2 separate regions of the Homo sapiens genome follow, and region 2 is linked to region 1. Evidence: promoter capture Hi-C in human tissues and cell types (Jung and others, 2019). All regions are on one chromosome and are shown on one strand. Each heading gives the region's core, a stretch centred on a gene start or on the middle of the fragment in contact. The rest is flanking DNA. Distances are from core to core; before and after follow the strand shown.

The links. Contacts are between HindIII fragments. The study calls those that stand out against the background at their distance.
Region 2: a fragment that was not itself captured here is called in contact with the fragment with the promoter of C6orf141 in region 1 in 1 of the 25 tissues and cell types used here (H1 embryonic stem cells).

What each region holds. Positions count from the first base shown.
Region 1 is chr6:49,549,098-49,552,253 of GRCh38, forward strand. C6orf141 (chromosome 6 open reading frame 141) reads left to right here and starts at 1,571. Exons shown (of 1, transcript NM_001145652.2): 1 at 1,571-2,998. The coding sequence starts at 1,696. The coding sequence ends at 2,430. RefSeq lists a silencer at 1,556-1,615 and enhancers at 2,286-2,355, 2,372-2,891. The HindIII fragment of the contact is 21,386 bases long and covers 1-3,156 here.
Region 2 is chr6:49,835,316-49,838,471 of GRCh38, forward strand. It overlaps CRISP1 (cysteine rich secretory protein 1), which reads right to left. Exons shown (of 8, transcript NM_001131.3): 7 at 3,122-3,156; 8 at 1-128. The coding sequence ends at 1. Among named protein-coding and RNA genes, the nearest start is that of CRISP1, 30 kb to the right of the region's middle. The HindIII fragment of the contact is 5,773 bases long and covers 1-3,156 here.

The DNA of each region.
Region 1 (3,156 bases), core at 321-2,820:
ACTAGAGAGCAGTGGTATGATCTTGGCTCACTGCAACCTCCCCCTCTCCCGTTCAAGCGATTTGGTGCCTCAGCATCCCAAGTAGCTGGGATTACTTACATGTGTGTACCACCATGCCTGACTAATTTTTGTACTTTTTGTAGAGACTGGGTTTCACCATGCTGACCAGGCTGGTCTCAAACTCCTGGCATCAAGTGATCCACCGGCCTCAGACTTCCAAAATGATGGGGCTACAGGTGTGAACCACCACACCCAGCCATCAGTGGGTTTTTTAATAAAACAAACAGCTAAGGATGAACTGGAAACCACAAACTGAGCTCTTTTTCTATGACCTAGCCTCCCCGGTTAACCTTAGGCAAAGAGTAGTGGTCAGCGGGCCTGCCTATGGGTAAATTCTAAAAGCCTCGCCAGAGACACTTAACTTTTTTTAACCCCTGTGGTTAAAGAGGACGGGTGGGTGCAGAGGGAATTTTATAAACGACACAAACACAAACAATTTTAAGTCCTGAAAAAATTCATTTGGATGTTTGTTTTGCTTCTGTTTTATAGCTTGTTTTAAATCAAAGACTACACCTTCCTGAGACAAGCGTTGATTACACACAAAATGAAGACTGGCCAGGGCCGTGGCTCAAGCCTGTAATCCCAGAATTTTGGGAGGCCCAGGTGGGTGTGTGGGTAGGGTGGGGGATCCTGGGTATCTCGTAAGCCCAGGAGTTCCAGACCAGCCTGGGCAATATAGGAGAGCCCCACCCCTACCATCTCTTAGAAAAATATAAATAAATAAATAAATAAATAAATAAATAAATAAATAAATAAAAGCCGGGCATGGGGGTGCGCGCCTGTAGTCCCGGCTACTTGACGGGCTGAGGTGGGAGCCTGGAAAGTCGAGGCTGCGCCACTGCACTCTATCCTGAGCTACAGAGCGAGACCATATCTAATGTGGGGGGGTGGGGTAAGAGGAAGGGGGAGCGGGGAGAGGGAGAGAGAAAGAGAGCGGGAAAAAAGAAGGAGGAGGAAGAGGAGGAGGAGGACACAGGTGTGACCATTGTCCTCCAGAGCTACAGATTCTGGCATTCTAAAGGAAGAAGGACAAAGAAACCAAAACCAGTTTCTCCAAGGCTTCAGCTTTTCAGTCTGACCATTTGATCTACATTCCATTATTTTGGCAGCATGGTGGGAGTGGATTCGGAATGGACAAAAACCCTTTTCAGAATTAGATCAGCTAATTAAAATGCACACAAACTTCTTTGTTCCTTCACCTCAAGGAGCGTCCTTGGAAAGCAAACATACTTCGGGGCATTTCAGTGGGGGCGCAGTGCGAGGGTGTCCTTTGCGCCTCAGCTCCGGAGAAAAACGAAAGGTGGGTGGGAAACTAGGATAGAGGTGAAAAGTAAGAGGGGACTGAATCAGCGAATGACAAAGGGAGCAGGGCTCCGGACAGGGGTAGGAGGAAGAAGAGGAGTGACTGGGGCTTGTGTCAAGCTTCTTCTGAATGGCTAGACAGCCGCCAGGTGGGAGAGGCGGAGGGTGAAGAGGCGGGTTCCGCACGCGGTTAGCCTGGGGCTGATCTAGTCTTCAGCTTTCACCGGCTGGGAGTCCGGAGCTGCAGCAGAGGCCACACCCAGGGCTTGGTGGTCCCGCGCTTTCCGGAGCTCAGCAGGCGCTTGCTGCTTGAACCGGTCAAAGAAGGAACGAATGAATGACCCTTTTGCCAGGATGGAGACCCGGGGGCCTCAGGGAGCTGCGAATCCCATGGACTCCTCCCGCAGCCTGGGGGACCTCGGGCCTTTTCCGCGGGAGGTAGGGCGCGGGGCTCCGCTAGCTCCGGGCGCCCGGAATCCCGCGACGGCAGGGGCGAGCCGAAGCCAGGGCGGCGGCCACGAGGACAGAACGGCAGATCGGGCCCTCGGACCTCGGGCCGGGGAGGAATTGGACCGTGAGTCCTGGGTCAGAGAGAAAGTGCTCTTTCTCCTGCACCCAGAGAGGTGGTTAGGGACTCGAGGGGACCCTGCACGGGAAGAGGTGGCCGGTGCAGAGGACCTTCCTCATGCGGGTGGAGAGGACCACGGCGAGGAGCCCAACTACCCTTCTGTCTTTCAACGACAAAAGCGAATTTCTGGCAGGCGTGTAGCCCCGCCGCGGGACGCAGCAGACCCACCCAAATACGTGCTTGTGCGGGTGGAGGATTATCAGGTAACACAAGAAGTGTTGCAGACCTCCTGGGCCAAGGGTCGCATGACCACGAGGACTGAGGAGCACTTCGTGACCGCGCTCACTTTTCGCAGCAGTAGAGAGGGACAGCCTGGGGAACGCTGGGGCCCTGCTGAATCCCGGGCTCTCCAGGCACGAACAGGGGCATCCCGCGTCCACGCCGCGGGGAGGAGGGTTTCACCGTCTCCAGGGACTTGGCTCGAGGAAATTAAACTCTAATGAGTAGCTCGAGAAATGTTCCGGGATGGTGGATGAGCGATCATCCTTAAAAGAAAATGCTATTCTGGGAGCTCCAACCTGCAATTAACCTACAGAAGGAACCTTTTGAGAGGCTGGTGCAGCGCTTCGGGGAGGCAGATTAAGAACTGTAAGCAGCATAATACCTCCTTTGTGGCTTGAATTCCTTCGCTGTCTGGGGACCTAAGTCATTCAGAAGAGGTGGAGAAAAGATATTTTCAGATTGGCAGAATGTGGGAGTTTTGAAATGAGAAAACCTGTTGTTAATTTGCATTTTGGAATAACTCTCAATTGATCTCTTTTCTGTTCCCCGCCCCCCTCTTGTTTCTCTTTAGGACCTAGAAACAGAAGTGAAGTTTGAAGTCTGCTCTCTGCAAAGAGGGTGGGAGTGGGTGGAGAAGAGGCTTGTTTTAAAAGCCAAAAACAGAAAGTAAAAAGAAATGGGAAAGTAAAACCAAAGCAGCAAGTGACTCTCTTCTGATGTGCACTTTTCATTTTTCTCCCCCACATTTCAGTGTTAGAAAGAAAACGAGAGGAGCTAGGGAAAGAAGGAGTTGGGGACAGAAGACTAAGATTTCAACGTGAAATTCCATTTACAAAGGCTTTACTGCAAACAATAGCTAATTTAGTCCTGTAAACATGCATTTATCATACATTTTAATTTTAATATTAAAAATACTGCATGTAAATGTTCTGAACTAAAGGTAG
Region 2 (3,156 bases), core at 324-2,823, 290 kb after region 1:
CTATTTTATCTCAGTGTCACACAGACAAGTGGCTTTACAGAATAGGATAGTTGTTGAGTGGTTGCATCCCAGATAATGGACTTGTATGTCACAGTCGAAGTATTCATCATAGTAGATGCAGGGGTTAGCTGAAAGAAAATAGTATGGTTTTACAACACAGTCTTTTAAAAATCGCATTTGCTGAGGAAAGAGACCATCTTATTAAAGACAAAAAGAGAAATTTTTATTAACAATTGCTAACTAAATTTAATTAGCATAAGCTAACTAAATCTGAATGCAAAACAGGTGATAAGATCATGTATGAAAAGAAAAAGGTAAAATTTTTGTCTTTGTGTAAAACAAGTTTTTATCACAATTTTTTAAGTCCAATATAAACAGATTGGAGAGGAATCATATTTTTAATTACACTGTCATTTTGAAAGTATTAACTATGCCATTGCAATATAAAATATTCATAATTTTTTGTCTAATTATCTAATGCTGCATTATTTAATGGTTAAAGATTTGCTTTGGATTATTAAAAGTAATGTATAGCCAATGGAAAATGGAATTAAAAAGCACATATAGGATGGCATATATAATCTCTCCATCCACCCAGAGGTTATCTCAACTAACATTCTAGTGATTTTTCTCACCTTGCTCTATCCCATGGATGTGCACGCACCTACATCCTGGTACATACAGAGGCAGAAATGCACACGAAATTCTCCAATCAGTATGAAGATACCCAAAATTTTAAATTTGTGGCAATAGCACCAAAAAGCTTACCAAAATATTTTTTGACCTGAATTCTCTATCACAACTAACCAATGTATCTATTTGTCTCTATATAAAGGCAAAAATAACAATAATTTAATTCCCTCTCTCTTTTAAGATTTTCTGACCTTTATGCAGTCCTGAATTTGAATCTTGACAATGGAAAAATTTAAATTTTCCCATTATATCTCTTATCCTTCAATTATAAAGTTTGATCATTGCATGAAATTTATAACAATCTTATAAATTTTATTTTTATTTTTATTTTATTTTTTTTTTTTTGAGACGGAGTCTCGCTCTGTGGCCCAGGCAGGAGTGCAGTGGTGCAATCTCGGCTCACTGCAAGCTCTGCCTCCCGGGTTCACGCCATTCTCCTGCCTCAGCCTCCCGAGTAGCTGGGACTACAGGCGCCCGCCATCACGCCCTGCTAATTTTTTTTTTATTTTTTAGTAGAGACGGGGTTTCACCATGTTAGCCAGGGTGGTCTACGATCTCCTGACCTCGTGATCCGCCCGCCTCGGCCTCCCAAAGTGCTGGGATTACAAGCGTGAGCCACCGCGCCCGGCCTACAAATTTTAAATTTACATTTATGTCTTACTGTTTATTATTTTAGTGAATATCCTTCTATGCTATACACATTTTCCTCTTCCTAAATTATTAAACTGATTCACCTTCCAGGAACTTGGAGAATAACTACAGTAGATTTATCAAGGTGCAACAAGGAGATGAAATATGGATGTCATATTACTGCCAGAGCAATTGTATATTTGATAGTGTATCTCTGCTTCTTTTTCCTACAATCAGTAATTTGCCAAAGTCATTACTCATTTTTTTTAAAAAATCAATTACCTATCTTTATCCTACTTTATTCTCTTATGTAGTATTCTGGTGAAATATGACTATCAGTGGATTTTTTTTTCTTTAGCAGTAACATATATTTTCTTTGAATCTGTAAAGTGTTGTAATCCGTTGTTTTCTTTTATCTGTTGTTCTTAATTTATATACTTTCCTAATATTATAAGTAAGAATTATTTTTATAAATTTTATTTGAATTACATTAAATGAATTATATCTGCATGTCTAGGTCTTACATTTTTAGCATTGTTTGTGCCCAATATGTTCAATTCTTAAGTTCATATATTCCTTTAATAGCTCTCACTTTCTCAAACACTTACAGGTGAAGAAAGGGCTTATGATATACATCATCTATGTGATATAATCAATCTTCTTGAATAACATTTCTCTTCCCTACTCTTCTTTCACTTCTATTAAATTGTTATACCACCACAGACATTGCTTTTCTCACCTAGATTCTAAAAATCTACTCAATTGCCATCCCTTCTCCTGCTAAGGCATAGGTAACTGGTTGATTTTTTTTTTTTTTTCCCGGTGGGGAGGAATCTCTCTCCATCTACATTTTTTTCCAGAAACGGGGTATAAAAAGTGAAGTGGATACAGAGAAAGAGAGAGGGAGACAGATAGAGAAGTAAATAAAAGAGTACAAGAGAAGAGAAACGAGAGAAAGGTAAAAGGAGGAAGAAGAATCCATTTTCTTTCTTACTTTAAAAGACAATAAAGTAACCTGGTTAGGTGAAGAAAAATAAGTGGCCTTTCAAGTCGGAGGTCACAGGATATTTTTCTAAGGTTTATTTTTTTCTCCACAGACTTATTACTAGTATAATTTATCTTAATCAAGATTATTCCTAGAAATTAAGAAATTATGTTTGCAGGTAGGCTTCAAAAAGTGAAATTTGGCTATCTAAGGGAATAAACAGAAATGGCACCCATTTGGCTAAAGCTTTACCTTAGGTAAGATTTATTCAAGAAATTAAAAAAAAAAAAGAGGCTTTAAGGAATAATGTGAGCATCAGCTAACTTTTTAGATGGTTCACAGGAACCAAAGAAGAATAAGGATCACTCAGTAAAAATTGCATGCCACAATAAGTGGTCAGGCAACCTGGGTAGGTAGTCATGGAGGGGCAAGCAATTGGAGAACACCGGTAAACTGAAAGCAATGGGCCTAAATTATGGGTTGCAGTAAGGGGGTCCAAGAACTTTTTAGAGAGCAGAGAAAAATCTACACTTACCTCAATATTTTATCTAGGTTGACCCTAATTAAATATTTTAATCTGTTGGGTGGGAACTCGAGTTCTCAGACCTAGACTTTGTAATTTCCTTTGCCATAGGTTAAATCAATGGTTTTCAGTCACTCTGGCAATTGGGGAGGGGTAAGCAGAAATAATTTGTACATGAATGAGATGAAAGTTGTAGAAAAGTGCGATGTTTTTTAATGCTTAATTTAAAGGATGTATGGTTCCCAGATCAATGGGTTAACTGTAAACAAACAGAATGCAAACAAACTTACTGCAAAGTTTGTCTTCACAGTTACTTGGGCAGGCT